2 separate regions of the Homo sapiens genome follow, and region 1 is linked to region 2. The links are contacts of gene promoters, found by promoter capture Hi-C in blood cells and fetal thymus (Javierre and others, 2016). All regions are on one chromosome and are shown on one strand. Each heading gives the region's core, a stretch centred on a gene start or on the middle of the fragment in contact. The rest is flanking DNA. Distances are from core to core; before and after follow the strand shown.

What was found. Contacts are between HindIII fragments. The CHiCAGO score rates a contact against its expected background, and 5 or more counts as called.
Region 1: a contact is called between a fragment that was not itself captured here and the fragment with the promoter of ARHGAP18 in region 2, in 7 of 17 cell types (monocytes, M0 macrophages, M1 macrophages and 4 more). The highest score is 7.9, in monocytes.

The regions. Positions count from the first base shown.
Region 1 is chr6:129,609,990-129,615,446 of GRCh38, reverse strand. It overlaps ARHGAP18 (Rho GTPase activating protein 18), which reads left to right. Exons shown (of 15, transcript NM_033515.3): 8 at 3,837-3,914. Among named protein-coding and RNA genes, the nearest start is that of ARHGAP18, 97 kb to the left of the region's middle. The HindIII fragment of the contact is 3,838 bases long and covers 1,292-5,129 here.
Region 2 is chr6:129,707,990-129,713,210 of GRCh38, reverse strand. ARHGAP18 (Rho GTPase activating protein 18) reads left to right here and starts at 3,034. Exons shown (of 15, transcript NM_033515.3): 1 at 3,034-3,187. The coding sequence starts at 3,075. RefSeq lists a silencer at 2,681-2,760. The HindIII fragment of the contact is 10,321 bases long and covers 1-5,221 here.

The sequences.
Region 1 (5,457 bases), core at 1,961-4,460, 98 kb after region 2:
CCCCTCTTCCAAACCAGTCAATTAATTCCGTCTTACCTACTAACCTTTGGTGCTTTTTTCCCCTCATATCTACCACTACATTCAAACCTGCATCTCATTATTTCTCCTGACAAACTTTGTTCTATACAGTTGATCCCACCCATCAGCCTCTTTTAGCCACTGCATGCAGAACATGTATCTATGGAGAGCTGTCAGCAGTACCTGTGATTAACAGGAGGAGGCTGACAAATACAGGCTACATATTCAAATTCTTCTGTCAGTAGCAGTTGCAATTTACTATACACCAAAGCCTATACAAAGCAGGGATCTCAGCAGCATCCTTTCCTGGGGTATTAGTCAAAGTTCTCCAGAGAAACAGAAGCAATAGGATATATTTAGAGTGAGAGGAAGAGATTTGTTTTTTTTTAATTGGCTCACACAATTGTGGGGCTCACAAGTCTGAAATATGTAGAGCAGGCTAGCAGACTGGAAGCTCAGGCAAGAGTTGATGCTACCATCTTGAGTCCAAACTCTGCAGGCTGAAACTTAGGCAGTGTTTCTTTGTTGCAGTCTTGAAGCAAAATTGCCGCTTCTTTGGGAAACCAAAATCTTTTAGGCCTTCAACTGTTTGGATGAGGCCCACTACATTATAGAGAGTATTAAATAATTTTCATTATTCACAGTCTACTGTGACAACCAAAAAAAAAAAAAAAAAAAAATCTGTCACTGCAACATGTAGACTGCTGTTTGACTGAACACCTGGGCGCTATGGCCTAGCCAAATTGGCACACAAAATTCACCATCACACCACAGAAATACAGTGAGCTTCAGTTTCTGTGGAGGTTCAGTGATGCCACGTGATCCGGCTGAGGATTGCATCCAGTCTATTAAGAAAAATCTTCCTTTGTCATTTTCTCTTGAAGTTTTTTTTTTAAATTTATTTAGTTGGTTATTTTACATTTTTGGTCCCTTAACATTCTGCAGACTCTGGCTGTCTTATCTATTTGAAGGATTGGATAATGGCCCTAAAGTATTTTTGTTTCTATAAAAAATAAAGGAGCATATAAAAAGTTTACTTGTAGATAACACTCATCTGTTTGCATCCCTTGTGAATTATAAGCAAAAAATCACAGTGATCTATCACAAAAAAAGTTTTGATTTATCAGCTGACAACTCAATTAGGTCATATCTGTATTTTGTAAAATGGAAAAAATTAGAAACGACTGATTTGCAAGAAGATTCATTACCAGTCTTTAGAGGACTATAATTTAATTTTTGAGCTTATATACCCGAAAAGGACACTAACAAAGCTTATCTAATATCTATGAACCTGTACCTGTTATATTATTTTACTCAGAGGTACATTGTTTAAACCTTGTGTTCTCAGAAGGATGAGGGAAATAGAAATATTGTTAATTTTAATCTATGAAAAAAGTCTGTCTTATAACCTAATTATCAAATCTAGTGTTTTCACTGTCAAATGAATCAGCCAACTCAGCCATACTTTGTGTCAAAGAGTCTGTGTTTTCATTTCATTTTTCAATTCACATAAGTATGTAATATATATTTTGAGAAATGCTATGAAAATTACTGATAAATTACAGAACATAGATACATTAGTAACAGCATCATTAAAATGTATGAGTCAATATAGTTATTTTTCATCTCTATTTTAATCCTGATAATAAAAGGAATGCTATAAAGTATTATTTATATTTTAATAATGCAATATAATGTAGCTAAAAATGTTATTTTCAGTGAGATATATAAGAAAACACATGGCATTCCTTCTGACGATATATGTACGTAACTCTATTGGGTGCTGGTTTTTAGCCTTAGAGAATAATGAAAAGGACTCAAATATTAAAATGCAGAAATTACGCTCATTCAGTTATTTAGAAGTCACAATCACTTTTTCCTGTGTACTTAATGAAAGTGAAAGGCATATATTGCTGAAAACTAATTTGCTCCAGCAGCTAGCATACAATTGTACTTTTTGTTAATAGGACTAGAAACATTTTAAACATTTTATAAGATCAAATAAAATGAAAATTGGCTATACATTGAATATTGGTTACATTAGGTTTTAAATGCTTTATTTTGAATAACGCCCATCTGATCTAAAATAATTCGCCTAAAATTTTTGCTATGGGATTTTATCCAGTGTTACTTGAAAAATGTGGTCTTGGAAAATATTCCAGAAATTTTTTTTCTTTTCTTTTTTTTTTTTTTTTTGAGACAGAGTCTCGCTCTGTCGCCCAGGCTGGAGTGCACTGTTGCGATCTTGGCTCACTGCAAGCTCCGCCTCTGGGGTTCACACCATTCTCCTGCCTCAGCCTCCCAAGTAGCTGGGATCACAGGCACCTGCCACCACGCCTGGCTAATTTTTTGTATTTTTAGTAGAGACGGGGTTTCACCATGTTAACAAGGATGGTCTCGATCTCCTGACCTTGTGATCCGCCCGCCTCGCCCTCCCAAAGTGCTGGGATTACAGGGGTGAGCCACCATGCCCGGCCTACTCCAGATGAATTTTTAAAAATCCTGTACTGCTTTGACTGATCAAAGATGCTTCTCTTTTCCTAATAATAAATCCTTAGGAGAATTTTGAGACTGCTATGCTTAGTTCTTACTGACTTCCTCAATATCAGTGCATCTTTGGCCATAATATAACCCAGGAATAGAAGAGGTGAAGTGTTTAAAGAAAAGTTGACATCTCTTCCAGTGTCCACATACTACAATATATCTAACTTCAGAATATCCAGACAAAGGTCAAAATACCTCATTTATGATGCTTTGCTCCTAACAGACACTTTTATGTGCAAGGGAAAAACAGTAAGCTCCAGGTAGTTTATAGAGCCTTGTTTAATCATTAAAGGAGGCTTCCCTGAAAATTTTTTTTTTTACATTCTTTTGATACTCTAGAAGATTTTATGCCTTAGGGCATGCAGAGAATATTATAGTAAGACTGTGGATGAGTGAAGAATAGGTCTGTCTTTTATAAAGCAGGGAAGGCAATTGTGAAATGAGAGTGGGTGCCAGGGAGGAAAACCTATATGATGCTAGGAAATGCCTTATATTCAAACTGAGGACAGGAAAACTGATTTTCTTAAAATAGAATATGTTTTATACGGCCTTTGTGTACTGCTCAGGGAATGCCTACTCCAAGAAGATCACGTTATCAAGAATCTGACCACTCTTATTGTCTTCTTAGCCTCCAGTAGTCATTGTAATTTCTCCATTTGCCTTCTTTTTGCGGGTTTCTGCCTTTTTAAAAAACAAAAACAAAAAAATGCTTTTTGTGGGAATCTGGAGTTAGATCAGCGTATTCATTGGGCATCAGGTATGACTTAGAGGCCATATACAAGGACATTTTTCTTTGTTTAACACCAAAGACTTAAAAATGAATATTTGCAAACAGTCTTTTTTCTGCATGTCATAAATAATTCTTTCTTGGAACAAGCTAAAAATGAGATGTAAATATGCAAATGCTAGATTTTCATAAGATTTATTTGATTGCAGAATGTAGGTTTCTGGAAAAGCAGAATAAATAGATGTTCTTAGTTGCTTTTAAACAGTGAACATCTTTATTCTGTTTGTTTGGAGTACCACAGCTGTTGTGTGAAATTACACACTTCTGTTATAAAGTAGCATAAGGCCCAACTTTTTCTAAATTATAACAAAAGTTTCTGGACTTATTGTTTTGAAGGACAGTGGTAGTAAAATAGCATTCAAAACCTCATAAAATCCAGTTTACATGTCATTGTAATCAGTTTTATTTATATGTGAAACAGATGTTAAATTCGGAATTGTACCTGTTACAAATACGGAAATTAGAATGTTTCTCTGTTTATGCACAGCTGATTTCTCGAATTGAAGAGAGAGGTTTGGAAACAGAAGGCCTCTTACGGATCCCTGGAGCTGCCATTAGAATCAAGGTAATCTCTGGGTTCTACTAATGTAAACATTTTATTGTTTATTTACACTTATGCATTTTAAAAGCTAACTTGTCCTCTCTACCCCTTTTTTCCATTGTTAGTAAAGTAGATAAAATAAAACAATAAAACCTTTTACCATTCAGTTTAGTTTTTCTACAGTCCCTTCTGGTTTTTGCTAAGTTTTTTGTTTTGTTTTGTTTTCAAAATCACCATATTACCTATAATAATACTATGACAAAAGAATGTGATGAGTTAAAATATTAATGGCGTGGGGATAGTTGTGATAGATTTAGCCAGGATGAGTAGTAGCAATTGAGTTTACGGAAGTCAGGGCCGGGCGTGGTGGTTCACACCTGTAATCCTAGCACTTTGGGAGGCCAAGGCGGGAGGATTGCTTGAGGTTAGGAATTCAAGACCACCTTGGGCAACAAAGTGAGACCCTGTCTCTACAAAAAATAATTTTAAAAAATTAGCCAGGCATTGTGGTGGTCACCTGGAGTTCCAGCTACTCAGGAAGCTGAGTGGAGAGGATTGCCTGAACCCAGGAGTCCCATGTGGCAGTGAGCTGTCATTGTCCCACTGCACTCCAGCCTGGGTGACAGAGCAATAAGACCCTGTTTCTTAAAAATAAAAGAAAAAACACTTTGGGAGGCCAAGGTGGGCGGATCACGAGGTCAGAAGTTTGAGACCAGCCTGGCCAAAATAGTGAAACACTGTCTCTACTAAAAATACAAAAAATTATCCAGGCATGGTGTTGGGCACCTGTAATCCCAGCTACTCAGGAGGCTGAGGCAGGAGAATCGCTTGAACCTGGGAGGCAGAGGTTGCAGTGAGCCAAGATCGCACCATTGCACTCCAGCCCGGGCAACAGTGCGAGACTTCGTCTCAAAAGAAAAAAAAAAGAAAAAGGCCAGGATCATAGACTCCTGCAGATGGGGGACCTTGACATCCTATGCATAATTAGTCTTAGTGAGCCGGCCAGACGAGACACTCTCAACCACCTTCCTGATTCACACAGTTCCCTGTCTTGCTGCATCCAGGGTAGCCTGAGTCTGGCTGGTGAAAGAATAATTCCTAGACTTCCCAATTTGAGCCATCCCTTCTCCCTTGCCTTTTCTTCTCTCTGGATGACAGTTCCTTCCCACTGTTCCAGGGTACCACGTGTCCTCCTGCTGTCATCTTTGTGCCTCACTTTTTGGCCTGGGGGATAAAGCTTCCAATGAATGCATGATAAAGATGGAATTACCCTACAGGGGATGCATACTGCATATCCCCTCAGGGGATTTAAATGTAAAGGGGACTCATACTTGGAATTGTAGCTGTATCTGGAAGCAGCCATTAACTACTAACTTTTACCCTATCTTCCAAATTCACCTTTAGCTCTGCACTGAGATAGCACAAGTAACCACTGCCCACATCCAATACATTGTCTTCCTGAATTTGAAAATCCAAGAGAAAATAGGAGAAAAGAGAGAGAATCTCTCTTCATTTTCATAACCCCATTCTTTATGAAATCGTTAGAGCTGGATCAGGACTAAGTGTT
Region 2 (5,221 bases), core at 1,785-4,284:
GCCTCACAGAAATTAAAAACGGTGGATATTGCAAACCCAAATATTATTTTGACATTGTAAAACAATTACATTTCAACCTGTACATTGTGATTTGTTATTAAACAAGTGAAAAGACCATAATTAGGCAAAAATATAACTAAATAATTGTTTTGGCTATAACTGGACAAAATCTTCATCGCAAACTGTCACATGAGAGATGCAGTGCCCGTGGCTGCCAATGGGCATGGATGACATTGACAGGCTAAAGACATAGCAAAGGAAGAAGGAAAACTAGAAAAAAAAGGAAGATAATAAAAAGGGAGGTAGAGGGAAGTAAGGGGGGAGAAAAAGGTGGGAGGGAAACAGAAAAGAATTTCCAAAAGATAATGTAGTGATTACCATCAATAATTGTATAAGATAGTGATTCCCATATGTTTGCATTTCAGAGTAGCTACATAAAAAAGGAGGGGTGGATGAGCTGGTTATTAACATTTTTTCCATGTAAGGACACTGAAAAGACAAAACACATATATTCTAATTTACTTTAATCTTTGCCTCCCTCTCTTTATAGTTTTTGTTTTGCCTGAACTGATGAACATTTCCTCATAGGTTAGCACTGGTATGTGCATGGGAACCGCTTATCTAATATTACCAATTTTAATATAAAGATTTAGTAGAGTTGGCCGGGCGCGGTGGCTCATGCCTGTAATCCCAGCACTTTGGGAGGCCGAGGTGGGCGGATCACCTGAGTTCGGGAGTTCAAGACCAGCCTGACCAACATGGAGAAACCCAGTCTCTACTAAAAATACAAAATTAGCCAGCGTCGTGACACATGCCTGTAATCCCAGCTACTCGGGAGACTGAGGCAGGAGAATCGCTTGAACCTGGGAGGTGGAGATTGTGGTGAGCCGAGATCATGCCATTGCACTCCAGCCTGGGCAACAAGAGCGAAACTCTGTCTCAAAAAAAAAAAAAAATTTAGTAGAGTTTTAAAGGATACTTTCAATTCATTCAGGTTTTCCTCCATTCAGTGTTTACTGAAGGCTCAGTAGGTACAAAATTTAAGTTAGCTGTCAGATGAAGAGAAAAGAATCATAGTAGGACCTGAAAAGATTGTGTCTAGCAGATGGAAAGACTTGTATGTATAAGGTAGCAGGAATGCCCAGTGATCTGCTCAAAAGCCTGGAACTGGCTCTGTTAGCAATAGAGAGCCAATGAAGGTTTTTAAGCGAGGAGAGGGATCATGAGTGCCAGGGTGTGATCATAATGTCAAAGCAATTTAAAGGAGGTGACAGGGAGATGAGCTAAAAGGGCTGTTGTAATATTGGAGCTAAGACTGCATTATAGGATCCAGAGGTGGTTGAGGTCATGGGGATAAAAAGGAGACAGCAAGTAAAGTCCTATGGAAGTGGAAATGGGAAGGTTGAGCAGTTGTGCAGGGGGGAGGGAGGAAGATATAAATTCCTTTTAAGGAAGACTTTTGTAAATTATAAGAAAGAGGGTTCAAAAATAAATTTCAGATACTTCTAGAGTATGTAAGGAGGAAGAAATTATTTTTCATGACTGTTTTAAATAATGATAAGGTATAAGCAATAAGTTTATGTAATGATGGAATTGGAAACTTGTTCAAGAGGAATTCTAGAGAGTTGAATGAATCATAAAAATCTAAAAAAACCTTCAGACTACTGGGTATGTCAGAGTAGAAGCCAGGCGTGGTGGCTCATGCCTGTAATCTCAATACTTTGGGAGCTTGAGCCAAGAGGATTGCTTGAGCCCAGGAGTTCAAGACCAGCCTGGGCAACACAGTGAGACCCTCCCTCTCCACAAAGCATAAAAAAATTAGCTGGGCGTGGTAGTGCATGCCTGTGGTCTTAGCTATTGGGGAGGCTGAGGCTGGAGGATTTCTTGAGCCTGGGAGGTTGAGGCTGCAGTGAGTTACAATCACCACTGTACTCCAGCCTGGGTGACAGAGTGAGACCCTGATTCAAAAACAAACCAAAAAAGTGATTTTTTTTTTTGGAGGGGAGATGGGGAGAAAGAACAGAGCTGTCTTTTGTGTTTATGATAATTTTGATCTTGTTTCTTAATCTGCAAAACAAAGAAGAGCATACTGGTGAAAAATAAAAGGAATGTAGCCTAGAATTCTGTTCAAATCCAGCTTCTGGCACTAGCAACTGTGTTATCTTAGTGAAGTTACTTAACTCGTCCCTCAGCCTTACTTTCCTTGTGTTATGTATAACACAGATGATAGTGATACCTATCTTGTACGGTGTGTGTGTGTGTGTGAGAGAGAGAGAATTGAATGGAATGAGATAATACATGTGAAACCCCCGTCCATGAGAGCTTGGCATATAGTAGGTGCTCAACAAATGGCAGGGACTTCTCTTGTTCTCAGCAATAACACTTAACAGAGCATTGGTAGGTCTATCCCTTTTTGGTGCTGAAAAATATTTTGCTAAAACAAGACGTATATTTGAGATTGGCTTTATGTGAAAGACGACGACATTCCAGGACACACAATTTTTATGAGGGCATTTTTAACCGGACACAAGGATCAAGCCTTTCTCGTCGTCTGGATTGCAGAGTTTTGCCGCGGGTTCGTTGTTTTTTACTATGGCTAATTTTAACGCTGAACATGAAGGGGTTAAGAAATGCCTTTACTCATGTTACATTAAGTAGCAGAAATTATAAGATAGAGGAATTGGGGAGGGAAAAAAAAAAGCCTTGGCAGCAACTCATGGTTTCCTAAGTAAGACGGCTTGTAGTTACAGTGATGAGTTGAATATACGTTCTGGCAGTTTAATCTGATCAGACTAACTTGGGGGTGGGTGCAACCCGTCGCTTCCACCCTTCGCCTCCTTTAACCAAAGCCGCCCAGAGTGCAATTGTCCAGAGTTGAAACCATGCTGTGAGTTGCAGCTTCTAATTGGAGAGGCAGGAAGCCCTTCCCTGGACAGACCCCGCCCCTCCCCGTGTGAATCGCCAGCCTGCGGGGAGGAGCTGGCCAATGCTAATGAGCGAGTTGCCAGGCGAGACAGGAACTTCTTTCCCCTTCTCTGTGTCAGGATCGCAGAAAGTATGTCCCTTCTCTCACCATGAGCTGGCTCTCCAGTTCCCAGGGAGTGGTACTAACAGCCTACCACCCCAGCGGCAAGGACCAGACCGTCGGGAACAGCCATGCAAAGGCAGGGGAGGAAGCCACCTCGAGGTAAGCCTTCGGAAGCTGAAAACAAAACAAAACCCTCTTACCTGCTCCAGGAAGAAAGTGACAGGGAAGTTGGCGTGGGGAGAAGGGAATTCCATCTGCACGTCGAGCCTGAGCTCGTGCAGCAGCAGTAGCAACGTTTGGCGTGATTTTTATGTACTTTTCATCTCACCTAGTCCAAGTCTGAAATAACCCATATGATTACTGGTGAAGACAGAGAAGAAGGAACTGGGGAGAGGGCTATATGGGCTGTCAGACTAGCTATTTAGCAGGTGCATTTGCACATGCTGAAAGATCAAATAGGTCTATCTGAAACACTTCCTTTCCTATGAAATGGAATTCTTGAATGGGCTCAAGGCACTGCCACTGGAACTGTTCGCTGGGAAAGTCTGCCAAAAAGCAGGGAGGCTGTTCACTGTACTGTACAAGCTGTTGTTGTTAGAGTGTTTTTTTTCCCCCCTCTCTTTGCTGAAAGCAAACCTCTTAGGCAAAAAGCCCAAGACACTGGCCTGTGGCAATATGTTTCACATTCTTTTGTGTATGTGGATTTTTTTTCCCCCAGGCTTTCAAAAAGGAGTTTTTGTCAGGAGATAGCACTCTGCTGCTGGAGTGAAATGTGGTTAATGTTAAATCACTTTATAGGCAGAGAGGGCAAATGTTCTATAGACCACTGAGGCGCAAAGGGTACCTTTCTCCCTATCTGTGTACTTTGTTCCATTTTCCAAGGGCTTTTTTTTTTCTTTCTCTCCTTAATGACCTTCTCACTAGCTGAACATTTTTACCTCCATCAAGATATAAATAGTAAATATTGGCCTAGAAGATTGCAAGAAGCAAATACTAACCTAATAGCCTAGAACACTAAATTAGTTATCGGTAAGCACATTTCCTCCTCAATGCTTAATGTGATAATAAAACCTTCTTTGTTCTTATGTGACTTATGCCTGTGCCTTAAGCTGAAATAATGCTGCCTTTCATTTGTTTTAAAATCTCCAAATATGAGGGAGGGAGAAAAATCAAAGGAATGGCTGTAATACTCAGTGTTAGACTCCCAGCTGACGGGAACTGTTTCTCACATAGCATCCACAGTATGTATTTCATTGAATGAATTCATTTCCAAAGATAAAAAAGATTTGGTGCTTGTGCCTTAGCTGTGTTACCATTTCATTTTCCATCATTTTAAATGACTTAATGTTAAATCATTAAATCAAGAGATCTTGAAGTGTTTTCATCCATTTTTCTGTAATGTATTAGTAATCATTAAGCAGTAAAGCAGCCTGCAACACCAACCCCATACCCAGCCATAACTTGGATTCCACATGTCAGTCAAAATTGCCAAAATTATACAAGCTCAGGACATTCTCCGACTTTAGGCTGAATGGCCTGAGGACCTGAGCTGAATCTTGGATCTTGATTGTGAGAATGGAAAGGACCTTAAGGACTGAGTCCTAACCTCTCATTTTCACGTAGGACTCAAACCCCAGGGATTAGTTAAGTTTTTGGAAGGTCTGGAGTTCTAGGCCTTTGTCTGGGGCTGCATCTCCAGTTCTGGAGACTCATTATTCTGTGTTTGCAGTGTGGGTGGCCCATACTTGAGTGGGTTGAGAGAATAAGAGAGGATCAGATCATTCTCTGCCTAGGCTGAAGCAGAACCAAGAGGCACTAAGGTGGCAGGGTGGGCAGCTGCCCACACGGCAAGTGCCCTGTGTGGGGCCACAGCTCCAGGTGAGCTCCTTTGCTGGCTGTCACGTAGCCTGCCCATACCAGACCCAACTTCCCACCACTGAATTAGTTCTAGGGATCGTTCCTGATATTGACCGGAGAAGATGGGAGCCTGGTTTGAGGGCAGGGAGGAAGGAGGGAGTAGGGCTAGTTTTCAATGGCTTTTACCCTTAAGGGCTAACGAATCAGATAAACTTGTTGTTGTTTTGGGAGATACCCTGTTTAGCCTGAAAGGATTGAGATACTGTAATTGCTATGGGGGAGGGGATGGATAGAAGGAAGGAGGATTTGAAGGTGGGATGGGGTCCTCGGTGACCA